Regions from separate parts of the Homo sapiens genome. Here all the other regions are linked to region 2. Evidence: promoter capture Hi-C in 16 types of primary human blood cells and fetal thymus (Javierre and others, 2016). All regions are on one chromosome and are shown on one strand. Each heading gives the region's core, a stretch centred on a gene start or on the middle of the fragment in contact. The rest is flanking DNA. Distances are from core to core; before and after follow the strand shown.

Region 1 (4,653 bases), core at 1-2,500, about 11 Mb before region 2:
GTGGTTGTGCAGCAGGCAATGAAATGAGCTTACATTCAAGCTTCCGTGTTTTACTGAAACAACAGTCACAGATGCAGTAGATGTTAAAGGTTGAAAGACGAGTGCAGTAAAAGCATTATGAGGACAAGAAGAAAACGTAAATATTTGTGTTGTTTCATTCTTTGTTGTGGTGGCAGAAACAGCCCCCTCTTTCTAAGGTAACTCCAATATAATGATCTCTCCCAGCTTTGAAATACTCCATGTCTGTTTCATTTTCCAGAAATATGGAAAAATGAATATATAATAAAAAACCCTATTTCTCATTTATTGTCTATTTTAGATCTTTATGTGGAAAAGCACTTACTCTCTTCCCAGAGCACTGTTTTTAAAGTAGGTATATTTGCCATAACCTATGCTCGTCTCTACAAAAGGATCACACCACCGTGTCCACCATTAAAGGGGAAATTCTTTAATGGTGGACACAGTGGTGTCCCTGAATCCTCATCCTCAAGTGTTTCAATCTTCCCAGTCTTGGGAAAACAACAATGTTACTTCTTTCTTTTGCACCCTCTGTAGCTGTAATCCTGTTTCCCCATTCTCCATAAAAGACTTACCTTATTTTCATATATCCTTATTCTTAGCCTTTGACACTTTTTTTTTTGAGACAGAGTTTTGCTGTGTCACCCAGGCTGGAGTGCAATGGTGTGATCTCAGCTCACTGCAACCTCTGCCTCCTGGGTTCAAGGATTCTCCTGCCTCAGCCTTCCAAGTAGCTGGGATTACAAGCATGCATCACCACGCCCGGCTAATTTTTTATATCTTTAGTAGAGACAGAGTTTCACCATGTGGGCCAGGCTGGTCTCGAACTCCTGGCCTCAAGTGATCCGCCTGCCACAGCCTCCCAAAGTGCTGGGATGACAGGTGTGAGCCACCGCACCCAGCTGATTCGCTTTCTTTACAGAGAAAATATAAATCATCACTCTGTTTGGCAGAAGCCTCTTCAACCAAATTTCCTTATTTCCACCTCCTGTTCTCTCCACACTCTTTCCTGCATCATTGCCAAATGTTTCAAAGGAATAGGTGTCTCAGGTGTTCTGAGTAGAGCCACTGCTCCCTTAATCTTGGCTGCACATCAGCATCACCTGGAGAGTTTAAGCAACCACTGATGCCTGGATCCAGTCCCAGAGTGTGGACTGGGCATTGGGATGTTTTAGGAGTTCCTCTAGGTGTTCTTAATGTGTGACCAAGGTTGAGAACTAATTTGTCACCCTCTAGAACTTGCTCCATCAGTCTCTACCCTTTGCCTACAGACTGATTCTACTTCTCTTACCAGATATCAGTCCCTTAAGGGCAGTGTCCGTTTCCTATTTATTTTTATATATTTTATGGTTTACACAGGCAACATAGTGAATTCCCAAATGATTTAGTAAGTGAAAAAAGTAATCAAATCAAGATGTTTACAGTGCTAAGCTCTTTTGTGACACCATCACCCCCAGCCTAAATTTCCAACTATTTATCCATAGATTCAATATTTCCAGTGGCAAGTCTGTTATAGTTTGCTTTTCCTGAAAATTCTTCTTTTCTTGGGTTTCCTACATTGATAAATTGAATCATACACACCAAATCACCTAAGCCAGAAATCTGAGTCCCCTTTGATTATTTCCTCTTATTTCCCACCACCAATTGGTCTATCCTGGCAATTTCTTCTCTGAAACTGTTTCCTATTTTTCATTTTCATCCTCTTTTTAAAAACAAATTTTTTAACTTGAAACAATTTACAAACTAAGAAAACTGTTGCAAGAATAGTACAAAAACTTCTGTGTACCCTTTGCCTAGAAACCCCACTCAAACTTTGCCAATTATTCCAATGTCTTTACAGCAAAAACGTCCCAGCCAAGAAAGATCATGTGCTGCATCCAGTTAGCTTGTTGCTCAATTCTCCTTCAGTCTGGATCAATTATTCAGGCTTTTCTTGACACTATTCCTTCCCCAGAGTTAGCCACTATTTTTAAATTGGTATGATTAATATCTGTTATGTTTTTGTACTTTCACTGAATTTATATGTATCTATGAATGGTACTACTATGTTATATTTTTAAACTGCATAAATGATATCATATAGATAAATCCTTTTGCATTTAGGGGTCTAATACTTCTATTTGTGTATTTGATGACCTTTTTGTTTGTGGATTGATTCCTTTTGCTTTGTACATTGATTCCTTTTAGCTTTTTTTTTTATGGCTCATTTTTAGTGATACAGAAAAAAATGTTTCTTCTGTCAGAGACCCCTAAGGTTATCACTGGCTAGTGAGCAATTTTTACATGAATTTCTTTCTTGGCTTAGAAGTTCTAAGATCATTCAGATATTATAAATTTGAACCCAGATTTGTGGGAGTACAAACTATGATTCAAATTCTCAAGGGAGAGAGATCTTCCTTGTTTTTTTCTCTTTCAGAGCTTGTGCCTTGACAGAAAAGCTTCTTACTATGCCAGAAGAAAAGCTTCTATCTAGTCTACCCTTTCATTGAGGGTACAGAATTTCATGGGTTTTTAACTTATGTGTGTGTGTGAGGTCATGAAGTTGGGGGACAGGGTGTGCTCACAGTTAACTGATTTCTGTTTGCACCAAGGGCCCAAGGTCTTATCACAAGTTACCGTGTATTTTTAAAAATTATAAAGGCCAGGCGCGGTGGCTCATGCCTATAATCCCAGCACTTTGGGAGGCTGAGGTGGGTGGATAACTTGAGGTCAGGAGTTCAAGACCAGCCTGGCCAACATGGTGAAACCCTGTCTCTACTAAAAATACAAAAATTAGCCGGGTGTGGTGGTGGGTGCTTGTAATCCCAGGTACTCGGGAGGCTGAGGCAGGAGAATCACTTAAACCGAGGAGGTTGCAGTGAGCTGAGATCACGCCATTGCATTCCAGCTTGGGCAACAAGAGCGAAACTCCATCTTAAAAAAAAAATTAATGAAAATTGACAAATGATAATTGTATATACTGTATTGTATACAACCTGATTTGTAATATGTATACATCTTGGAATGGCTAAATTGAGTGACTTAACATATGTATTACGTCACATACTTATTTTTATGGTGAGAACACTTAAAGTCTGTTCTTAGTGATTTTGAAGAATACAACATGTTGTTAACTATAGTCACTATGTTGTACAATAGATCTCTTGAACTTATTCCTCCTATGTAACTGAAATTGTATATCCTTTGACCAGCGTCATCCAGCTCCCTCACTCTCTCCCAGCCCTTGCTAACCACCATTCCACTCTTTGCTTCTATTGAGTTCAACTTTTTTAGATTCCATATTTAAGTGAGATCATGCAATATTCATCTTTCTGGGCCTGGCTTATTTCACTTAACATAATGTCTTTAAGGTTCATCTATGTTGTCACAAATGACAGGATTTCCTTCTTTTTAGAGGCTGAATAGTTTTCCATTGTATACATATATCACATTTTTAAAATCCATTTATCACCTCATGGATTTAAACATTCAAGCACCATCCTCATTCAATCCTTTCTCCTCTCCAGACAGGGTCATATTCTGTATTCAAGACCCTGGTGTCCAGTTTCTTTTTTTATTTTTGCCACCTGAATATTTCCCTGTCTTTTTTTTTGTAAGCTCAAGTATGCATTATTATTAATTAATTAATTTATTTTGCTGCATTTTACCCAGCATTTCTAAGTATTTGTAGTAGAAGAGTTTTCATGTTATCTAGTCTGTATTGATTAAGGACTGCTTATGTTCAGCTCAAGTAACAGAAACCTAGCTGTAGTGACTTACCCAAATACTGATTTATTTTCTCACCCTCTAAGAAGTTCAGAGGTAGGCAGTCTTCTGTGTTTTTGTTTTTCTATTCTTATCATGTAGCTTTCATCCTAATGTCTCAAGATGGCTCCTGTAATTCTAGGCATTAAATATGTTTTTAAGGCAGAAAAAGGATGAAAAGTAAAGGCAAAAGTACATGCCAACTGAGTCTACTTCTTACTCCTTAAATCAAGAAAACAGCTTTTTCATAAACCCCACGTAGTAAACTTTGGTTTACATCTCATTAGCTAGAACTGGGTCGTTTAGTTCTCCGTAAATGCATTAGAGACTGATAAATGAAATGTGCCCTGTTGAAAAATAAGTATTTCAATTTTTTATATCTTTAAAAAAATCTATATCAAAAATACATATATATGTATCTATATATCTATATATATCTATATATAGATACATATAAATTCAGTTGAAAGTATACAATCATAATAGAAATTAGTATTTTATTTTTAAATCTTTCTTTATTTCTTAAACAGCACTTACTGTCATCCTGAACAAAAATGGGGTTTCTGTTAGCAAGGCAGAAAGAGAATAGTTATAGGGTAAGCAACTATCAATGTCTGCCATGCTGCTGTAAGGCAAGAATTGAAAGTCTCCCATGCTCACTGAAACTTCCTTTCAGTTTTTAGACTGATAAACAGGGCCACTTACATAATTCGCAGGGACCAATGCAAAACGAAAATATGGAGCCCTTTGTTCAAGAGCAAAAGGAAAGTGCTGTTTAAAGGTATTAAAATAAAACTTTTTCCTTTATTTTGTGATCTCTTTTGACTTGTCATTTTTTTATTTGCTGTTTAATGTCATTCTAAGCAAAGAAAAGATTATAATTTAAATTAT
Region 2 (4,514 bases), core at 1,886-4,385:
TATCAAGATCGTTGCAATTTTGATTAGTATTTACCTGGACAGCACTAAGAGTGTATAAAAGATGAGGATCATGTCCGATACTAGCACTTATTCCACCACATTCATGTTGGCAAGACTTAATAAATGCCAGAATCTCTTCTCTATTCATGCGATGAAGTTGTCCCATGAGATCCATTACTGTCAGACCCCAATAGATGCCACTCATTCTCAAATACTCAGACATACAGTATTCCTAAAATAATACACAATTTCTTAAATCTGTCATTTGAACTGGTAACAAGTTATAAAGAGATTAAACACAAAGGTAACTCATTAGCCATGCTGCTATTTTTACCTCTCCTGACCTTAACAGCACTGATCAGTAGTGAGTTTAAAATCTGTGCTGCTCAATGTTAGAAGCCATCTTCAGACACAACTATTATCAGAAAAAAACAATTATCTGAGAAGCACAGGATTAGTTAATCTATGGCTGACAATACAAACAGTGCTTTAGTTTCTCCCATGAGCCAGAGACAGAAAAACATCTACCTTTTTCATCAGTGAAGTTCAGGGAGAGTATTTCTTTCCGAGTACCTATACCATATTTATCAGACATCTATTTTAATGTGGACTCTGTACAAAACCTATTATCTATTAGTAAATTATATAACTACATGAAAAATCAAAATGCCCTAAACATGCCAAAGATGTTTAAGCCCAGATAAAACAGTGGCTAATCAATGATACATGAAAATTAGTATTAGGATTCCAGAAACAAATTTTTCCCACACTCAACAATGCATTATATTTTAAGAAGTTTTGTGGCTGGGTGGTGGCTCCTGCCTGTAATCCCAGCACTTTGGAAAGCTGGGGCAGGCAGATCACTTGAGGTCAGGAGTTTGAGACCACTCTGGCCAACATAGCAAAACTCAGTCTCTACGAAAAATACAAAAACTAGCTGGGCATGGTGGAATGTGCCTGTAATCCCAGCTATTCAGGTGGCTCACTTAAACCCAGGAGATGGAGGCTGCAGTGAGCCCAGATCGCACCGCTGTCCTCCAGTCTGGGCAACAAAGTGAGGTTATAGCTCTCAAAAGGAAAAAAAGAAGTTTTTTTAACAGGTGGTGCATCTTAGTTTGCTACTAACCCAAATTCAGGGCATAAAGATAGATAGCAGATAAAGGCAGAAACGAGTCCAGCCCCATCCATATGGCCTTAACTCCATGATTGCTAATAGAGTATTTTCAAGGTTATGGGAACCTAACACTTAAGTAAAAAATTAATACATACCATATATCCCACAAATCGGTAGACTAAGACAACTGAGTTTGGATACTACAGGGAAAAACATTTACTCTTAACTAAGTTGTTTACTACTTTTTGCTAAGATTGTCCCAGAGTTTTCCTCGAAATTTAAAAATTTAAGGTAAAACTTTTTCAAGGTCTCAGAGTAATTCTAGAGCTAAAGTGTTATTACACATCAGCAATAGATTCAGATAATACATGCCAACACATCATTGACCTTGAAAGTATTACCCCTAACTACAAAAAGAGAAACCCGTTTTGTACCTCAAACCCTCATCTACTTTGTCTGGCAAGCCCTCTCAGTATAGGTAAAAACTGAGATTCTAATAAGCCCACAGCCTCAGACGTCCAAAGCACACTTAACTGAAGTTCAAAGGCACAGCACATCCTCAGTTCTCTGCATGGAGTTGGATGCCATTTTAAGACATAAATACTGTCTCACTGCTTATGACTGTCACACTTCTTTAAAATAAACTTTCCAACATAAAAAAATTATACATACATAATCATCTTTCTTTGAGCCATAGGATGCGATATAATCTGCATGTTTCTCCAATAACAAAGTGTCCGGTGCATCTGACTTGATAATAACATCCTTCTGTGGAGTGCCCTTTCAAAATAAAGTGGTAATCTCATCAATGTTTACCTCTACAACGTTCTTCTGCCCCACAGCATAGATTCAACATACATCTCAATTTTCACTTGATTTCATCTTGTAATAGGAAAACGTTCCATTTAAAAATTGTAACTAACTAGGGAGGCTGAGGTAGAAGATCGCTTGAGCCAGGGAAATTAAGGCTGCAGTGAACTGAGGTTGTGTCACTGCACTCCATCCTGGGCGACCGGAGACCGACTCAAAAACAAAACCAAAACAACAACAACAACAACAAATTGTATCCAACAAAAAAGAACTTAAATCATTCAGGCTTCGTCTTAGTCACGATTCAGGTAATTTTCAGGTCTCAGAGTAATTCTAGAGCTAAAGTAGTAATAATCAACTTTAGATTCAGAATACATGCCAACTCATCATTGACCCAAAAAATTACCACCAGCATTTCTTGTTGTTCACTTTTCATTCAAAAAGATAAGTAAAAAATAAACACCATAGAATATCAAAGCTTATCATTTCAGGACAACTTACGGTTTACATGTGGCAGAAAGCATATTTTTAAAAAATAAAAAAATCTAACCCTTAACTTGCAAGCGAATTCTTGCTTAATCAAATGCAGGTTTCAAAGCACCTTCTAAGTACCCCAAAAGTTGTTCAAATGTATTAAATAAGCAGTTCCTTTAGCTCCATCTTCTCCACCTTTAATCCGAGTCTCTGTATTTGCAGAAGTCCCCATGTGATGCGGCTCTAGTTCTTTTCGTATCTATATCTTCCTCATTGAGAGTACACTGCAGTCACTATAACAGGTCATGAAGATTACCGGAAGTGATTAAGTACCGAATTTTCTTCTGATCCCATTAAAAATCTTAAAGCGAGACCACATCACTAACGATTTTAAAGAAATCTTTGACACCCCCTCTCCAAGAAAAAAAAAAGCCACCAATCAGCCACAGCTTTTTAGAGGGGTTCAGAAATCGGGCTGCTCAACTCTTAACAGGCCCTCCCTACAGAAGAAGGCCTGGATAAAATTAGAAGCGGCATTGCCCGCGAGGTCTGCAGAAAACGCTGAGTAATATTTCACACTCAAAAAACCTTCCAAGGCCTGTGTCCTAACCATTCTCCAGCACCAGGAAACCAATCCTAAGGTGACCAGTGTGCTTAACCCTACTCCACCCTGTCTGCTACCAACCCATCCGGACAGCAGCGCTAAACTCACACTTACCATGTCTAACAGGGAAAGGAGAGAGCAGGGTCAGTTCCTGGGTAGACTTAGGAGCCGGGCGCCTGCGCAGATGCGCCTCTCAGGCCCCCATCGCGCTCCGATATAGCTGACCACACTTTCGCCTGCAAGGCAGAGCAGTTCCACGGCTGCCGTAGGACCCCACTGATCGCTCATAGGTGTCCTCACTGCCTGCGTCCAAAGTCCTGCGACCATATGCTTGTCCCATAGTCACTCCGATTTGTCTAGAAACAGTTTTAAATAATATTTAAATATCTGAGTTGCTTTTAAGAAATCATTTGTTCTAGCTGGACGCGGTGGCTTACGCCTGTAATCCCAGCACTTTGGGAAGCCGGACAGCAGGATTGCTTGATCCTAGGAGTGTAACCACCCAATATTGTGGTTCACTTTGCCTGCTGCTGACCGATAGCCCATTTATCAAGACAGGGGACTTGCAATGGAGTCTCCCCAAGCAGTATTCAGAGTTTTTAAAGATAATTCGGCGATTAGGGGCTTGGGAAGTAGGGAGTGCTGATGGGTCAGGTTGGAGATGGACTCATAGTGGGTAGACGTGAGTTTTTCTTGCTGTTTTCTGTTCCTGGGTAGGATGGCAGAACTGGTTGAGCCAAATTACCAATCTGGGTGGTTTCAACTGATCCATGGAGAGCAGGGTCTGCAAAATATCTCAAGAACTTATCTTAGGTTTTACAATAGTGATGTTATCCCCAGGAGCAATTTGGGGAGGTTCAGAAACTTGGAGCCAGAGGCTGCATGACCTCTAAACTGTAATTTCTAATCTTGTAGCTAATCTGTTGGTTCTGCAAAGGCAGACTGGTCCCCAGGCAAAAAAGCGGTCTTTTTGGGAAAGGGATATTATCAATTTTGTTTCAGAGTCAAACCATAAACTGAATTCCTCCCTAAATTGGTTCAGCCTAGGCTCAGGAATGAAGAAGGACAGCTTAAAAGTTAGAAGCGGCCGGTGGCTCACGCCTGTAATCCCAGCACTTTGGGAGGCCAAGGCGGGCGGATCACGAGGTCAGGGGATCGAGACCATCCTGGCTAAAACCCCGTCTCTACTACAAATACAAAAAATTAGCCGGGCGTGGGGGTGGGCGCCTGTAGTCCCATCTACTCCTGAGGTTGAGGCAGGAGAATGGCTTAAACCCGGGAGGCGGAGCTTGCAGTGAGCAGAGATCACGCCACTGCACTCCACCCTGGGCGACAGAGCGAGACTAGTCTCAAAAACAAAAGTTAGAAGCAAGATGGAATCCGTTAGGTCTGATTTCTTTCACTGCCATAATTTCCTCAGTTATAATTTTGCAAAGGCGGTTCCAGGAGATCCAGACCAGCCTGGGCAATGTTGCAAGACCCCCGTCTCTACAAATAATAAAAATATGAGCC
Region 3 (4,553 bases), core at 121-2,620, about 19 Mb before region 2:
TGATGGAAGACAATTTGGAAAGTGTTGTAAGGTCCACGGACTCTACTCACAAAGTCTCCCAAACTTGCTTGCTGATAGGAATGGACACGCTGGTTACATAAGCTAATCCCAGGTGCCCGATCCCCGGAAATTCTGATTCAGTGTTTCCTAATGGACCCTGGGAGTCTGCACCTTTAATAACACATTCTAGGCTCCAGGTAAGTGTGGTGATCAGGCAAGTTTGAATTTAGCAAAGGAATACAGGATGCAGTACTCCTGTCCAGCAGGACTCAGATTTCTGGTTTCTGATTCTAGATCTGACGCTATTCCACTTGGGCAAGCAGTTGCACCTTTCTGAACCTTTTTACTCATCTGTATACCTGTTCAATATAACCTACAGGTAGGTCTATGGTGGACCGAAGGCAAATTATATTTGGGGTGAAGGGGCTCCTGATCTTAGTATTTTATGTTGTCGTAATGTGGATTAATTAGACATAATTAATTTATTAACAATTAATTAATTAGACATAAGCAAAATTGAGATTGAAGGGGGTGTTGGCAGATCATCATTTTGGCTGAGGACATGAGAAACACACTGGAAATGCTTTGTGATAAAATTAACTGAATATTAATTGTAGGACTGTGCCTTGTCTATCCTGCTACCTAGAGCCACTGAGCTTTGCAATCCTCTTAGGAGTGTGGCTTACCTTTAGGTGGTCACCCTCAACTACTCTGGTCACACTGAGAGCTGTGAAAACCTCGAGAAAAGTTAAAAACATACATGTTGGGAGACAGGGGGTTTGGATGAGGGCCCTAAATTCGATGTTTAAGCCTAGGGTCCTTACTGGCGAACACTTTCAGTAATGTCTGTGTGCAACAGAAACATTTCTCTTGGCATTAAAAAAAAAAAAAGAAAGAAAGAAAGGATGTATTCCCTTAGCTTCAGGTGGCATTCACGAAGTTGACAGAGCCAGAACACCTCCTAACTGGGGAGTTTCGGGACCTTTAGGGCGCAGAGACTGCCTGACCTCGTCGTGGGCGTAAATCAAGCTTCCCCAGCGCTTAACTTTACAATTTTCAGCTTACGCTTGGCTGCAGCTGCGCACAATCCGCGCAGAAGCAGGGGTTCCGCTGACAAACGTGAACGTACAGAACGTAGAAACCTTTTAACGCTAATATGCAGTTTCCCTGTATGGCTGTTGTGCATTATTAATCTAGGTATTGCGTATTTAGTTTAGGAAACACGAATACTACATGATAAATGAGGTAAAATGGATTGTGACTGGGACCTCAGCTTCTCCGTCGCCTCCACTCCTCCCAGCTCAGGAAAGACCAGCCCACCAAGACGTGCGTCCTCCGCGTTTGAGTCGCTTCGGCACCCGTAGTTGTGAACTTTGACAGCGGCTGGTCCCCGGAAGTTGGACGCATGCGCCGTTTCTCTGCATGGTGTGCGTTCTCGTTCTAGCTGCGGCCGCAGGAGCTGTGGCGGTTTTCCTAATCCTGCGAATATGGGTAGTGCTTCGTTCCATGGACGTTACGCCCCGGGAGTCTCTCAGTATCTTGGTAGTGGCTGGGTCCGGTAAGTATCGAGGAGGCGACTGTCGGACTTGGGTTGGTCACTACAAACCCCAGAGTGCACCGCGACGCTCTTCCCTGGTACCCTTAGCACTTCTTGGAGTGTTGCATGCAGAGATTTGTAGTTTCTCTGCCTTGCCGGAACCGGGCAGTCCAGCCAGGGTAGGGGCTGGTTTGCTGACGCGGCCCAGAGGTTTTTTTTATGACAAGTAATTTACACTTGTCTATAATTAAGACTCTCTGTAGCGTATATTTTTCAAACAATTAGTGAACAGAGAACGTAGAAGCCTTTTGATGCAAACATGCAGTTTCCCCGTATGGCTGTTGTGCATTATTAATCTAGGTATTGCGTATTTAGTTTAGGAAACACGAATGCTACATGACAAATGAGGCAAAATGAATTGTCACATTTATAAATATACAAAGTCCAAGAGGATAAAAACAATGATCTACGGGCTGTAGAACAATACACACGCGGTGGCAGAGTGTGAGCAACACACTGACCTGTCAGGTAATACAATCTAAATCCACCAACTCTGTAGGTGCTTACAATTTTAAATACACATATTTGACAGGGACAGACAGACACACACAGACACAATGTAAACATTTGGGTATGGCAGGAGATTGCATCCAGATAGAACATGTATAGTATGAGTAAATGTACTAAGTTTATGTTCAAGTATAACGCATTACTTTATTCACTTAATCTGTTTTGAGCTGTTAGAAAGACCAAACACTAAACTAACCTCTGGAAATAACAAAACTGACTAACATTACTTGCCACGGAGTGCTGACTCCGTGCTAAGTCCTGTGAGAGATGCAAAGATACAGCAGTAAATGAAATAGAGAATACAAAAAAACTAACAGAAAATAAATCAAAATGAGTATTTGCCACAATGAGATAAATGCTATAATCTTGTAATAATTGTGTAAGAAGTACAAATTGCTATGGCAGTCTTCAGGAAGGGCACTACTTTATCAGGTCTTAAAAAACAGACAGCTTCCTGGAAGAAATGATGCTAAACTGAAACTTGAAAGATGACCCAGAATTAGTCAGATGAGGGACAGCCAGGGTTTCGAGGGCTGGGAGGATGTGAAAAGAAGGTGATAACACTTGGAATGACCAGAGTTGAGAGAACACTATCGTGTAGAGTTCAATGTAGGGAGGTAAACTGAGTCCAGATTGTAAAGAGTATTTAAAATCTTGCTTTTTTTCTTTTTTATACAGAGTCTCACGCTGTTGCCCAGGCTGGAGGGCAGTGGCGCAGTCTCAGCTCACTGCAACTCCACCTCCCAAATTCAAGCCATTCTCCTGCCTCAGCCTCCCGAGTAGCTGGGATTACAGGCGCACCACCACACTCAGCTAATTTTTGTATTTTTAGTACAGACAGTGTTTCACCATGTTGACCAAGGCTGGTCTTGAACTTCCGACCTCAAGTGATCCTCCTGCCTCAGCATCCCAAAGTGCTGGGGTTGCAGACGTGAGCCACCCCTGGCCTAAAATCCTGCTTTATAAAGCAATTGCTGCTACTCCACTGTTGATATCATGTAGGGGTTAAGACCACAGGCCTCTAGGTTGTCATAACACCACACATGAATCACATTTCTGCCACTTACTACCTTGGGGATCTCAGGCAATTAGTTAACCTCGCTGAACCTTCTGTTTCTACATGGGTTGAGAGAGGACAGGAGAGATTAAATAGGATCATATTTAAAGTGTTTAGGCCGGGCGTGATGGTTCACACCTGTAATCTCAGCAATTTGGGAGGCCGATACAGGCGGATTGCTTGAGCTTAGGAGTTGGAGACCAGCCTGGGCAACATAGTGAAACCCTGTCTCTACATTAAAATAAATAAATAAATTAGGTGGATGTGGTGGCATGCACCTATAGTCCCAGCTATTTGGGAGGCTGAGGTAGGAGGATCACTTGAGTCTGGGAGGTGGAGGTTGCAGTGAGCTGAGATTGTGCCACTGCACTCCAGCCTGGTTGACAGAGTGAGACCCTGTCTCAAAATGAAATAAAATAAAATGATATAATCAAAAGCTTAAATTAAAAAATAAAGTGTTCAGTAAAGTGCTTGACATATAGTGTCAACCTAAAATAATCAAAGGGCTCAATATCCAGTTAGAAGAGTTTATTCAAGCACAAAGCGTGAGATTGGGTGTCTGGGGAGCAAACCTATACCAAAGAATGTAATCAGTGCTCCCCATGTGGGGAAGAATGAAGGTAGTTTGTATACGCAAGAACAGAGATGCTGAACAAAATTACAATATTTTCCATACAAAGGCCAACATACAGATACAAGATTTGGTTGGCTACTGTAAGGGCCAAGGGGAAACTTCCCTTTTGCCCTCTGAAGTTTCACTGAAAATCACTGATGAGGCAGAAATAATAGGAGAAAAGGCATACAAATTTATGAAGCATATATGAAAGTGTTCTGAATGAAGACCCAGAGATACAAGGGAAATGGTCTGTTTTTATGCTTAGGTTCAGCAAAGTATGGACAGCCATGTAGAATTATGACTGGACAAAAGGGTATAATTTAATGCTAATAGACAGTAGGGAAGCCCAGCAAGGCCTGTCTAGATTTTTCTTGGTCTCTCTGAGCATGCATTCCTTTCCTTCTGGATGTGGGGTAGGGCCCTCTCTGGAATGGGGGTCTTATGACCTACCGTCAAACAAGGTAGATCAGATAATTTTTTTAATTTAATTAATTAATTTTAAAAATAGAGATGGTGTCTTGCTATGTGTGCCAGACTGGTCTTGAACTCCTGGCCTCAAGCAATTCTCCTGCCTTCCAAAGCGCTGGGATTAAAGGTGTGAGCCACCTCGCCCAGCTCCCCAGCTCGGATAATTTCTTTATGGCCAGTTTTTACACAGAAAGGTGGAGTAAAATTAGAGTAGTATTTTTAGGTTTTATGACCAGCTTTTGGGAGAAGGAGTTCTTGGTTTCTGTGACCCGCCCTGGGGAAGAGAGATTCTAGTTTCTATGGCA

What was found. Contacts are between HindIII fragments. The CHiCAGO score rates a contact against its expected background, and 5 or more counts as called.
Region 1: a fragment that was not itself captured here is called in contact with the fragment with the promoter of RABGGTB in region 2 in 1 of 17 cell types (total CD4 T cells); the score reaches 6.5 in total CD4 T cells.
Region 3: a contact is called between the fragment with the promoter of ALG14 here and the fragment with the promoter of RABGGTB in region 2, in 1 of 17 cell types (total CD4 T cells). The highest score is 8.6, in total CD4 T cells.

What each region holds. Positions count from the first base shown.
Region 1 is chr1:86,699,151-86,703,803 of GRCh38, reverse strand. It overlaps CLCA4-AS1 (CLCA4 antisense RNA 1), which reads left to right. Exons shown (of 5, transcript NR_135837.1): 1 at 1-197. Among named protein-coding and RNA genes, the nearest start is that of CLCA4-AS1, 3.0 kb to the left of the region's middle. RefSeq lists an enhancer at 1-24. The HindIII fragment of the contact is 2,416 bases long and covers 43-2,458 here.
Region 2 is chr1:75,784,877-75,789,390 of GRCh38, reverse strand. It overlaps RABGGTB (Rab geranylgeranyltransferase subunit beta), which reads right to left and starts at 3,135. Exons shown (of 9, transcript NM_004582.4): 1 at 3,117-3,135; 2 at 1,787-1,894; 3 at 35-232. The coding sequence starts at 3,119. SNORD45C (small nucleolar RNA, C/D box 45C) reads right to left here and starts at 2,319; the gene lies at 2,242-2,319. SNORD45A (small nucleolar RNA, C/D box 45A) reads right to left here and starts at 1,502; the gene lies at 1,419-1,502. RefSeq lists a silencer at 3,044-3,103 and enhancers at 3,164-3,393, 4,334-4,514. The HindIII fragment of the contact is 7,492 bases long and covers 2,405-4,514 here.
Region 3 is chr1:95,069,768-95,074,320 of GRCh38, reverse strand. It overlaps ALG14 (ALG14 UDP-N-acetylglucosaminyltransferase subunit), which reads left to right and starts at 1,370. Exons shown (of 4, transcript NM_144988.4): 1 at 1,370-1,558. The coding sequence starts at 1,423. RefSeq lists enhancers at 1,249-1,608, 1,849-1,928. The HindIII fragment of the contact is 2,572 bases long and covers 1,032-3,603 here.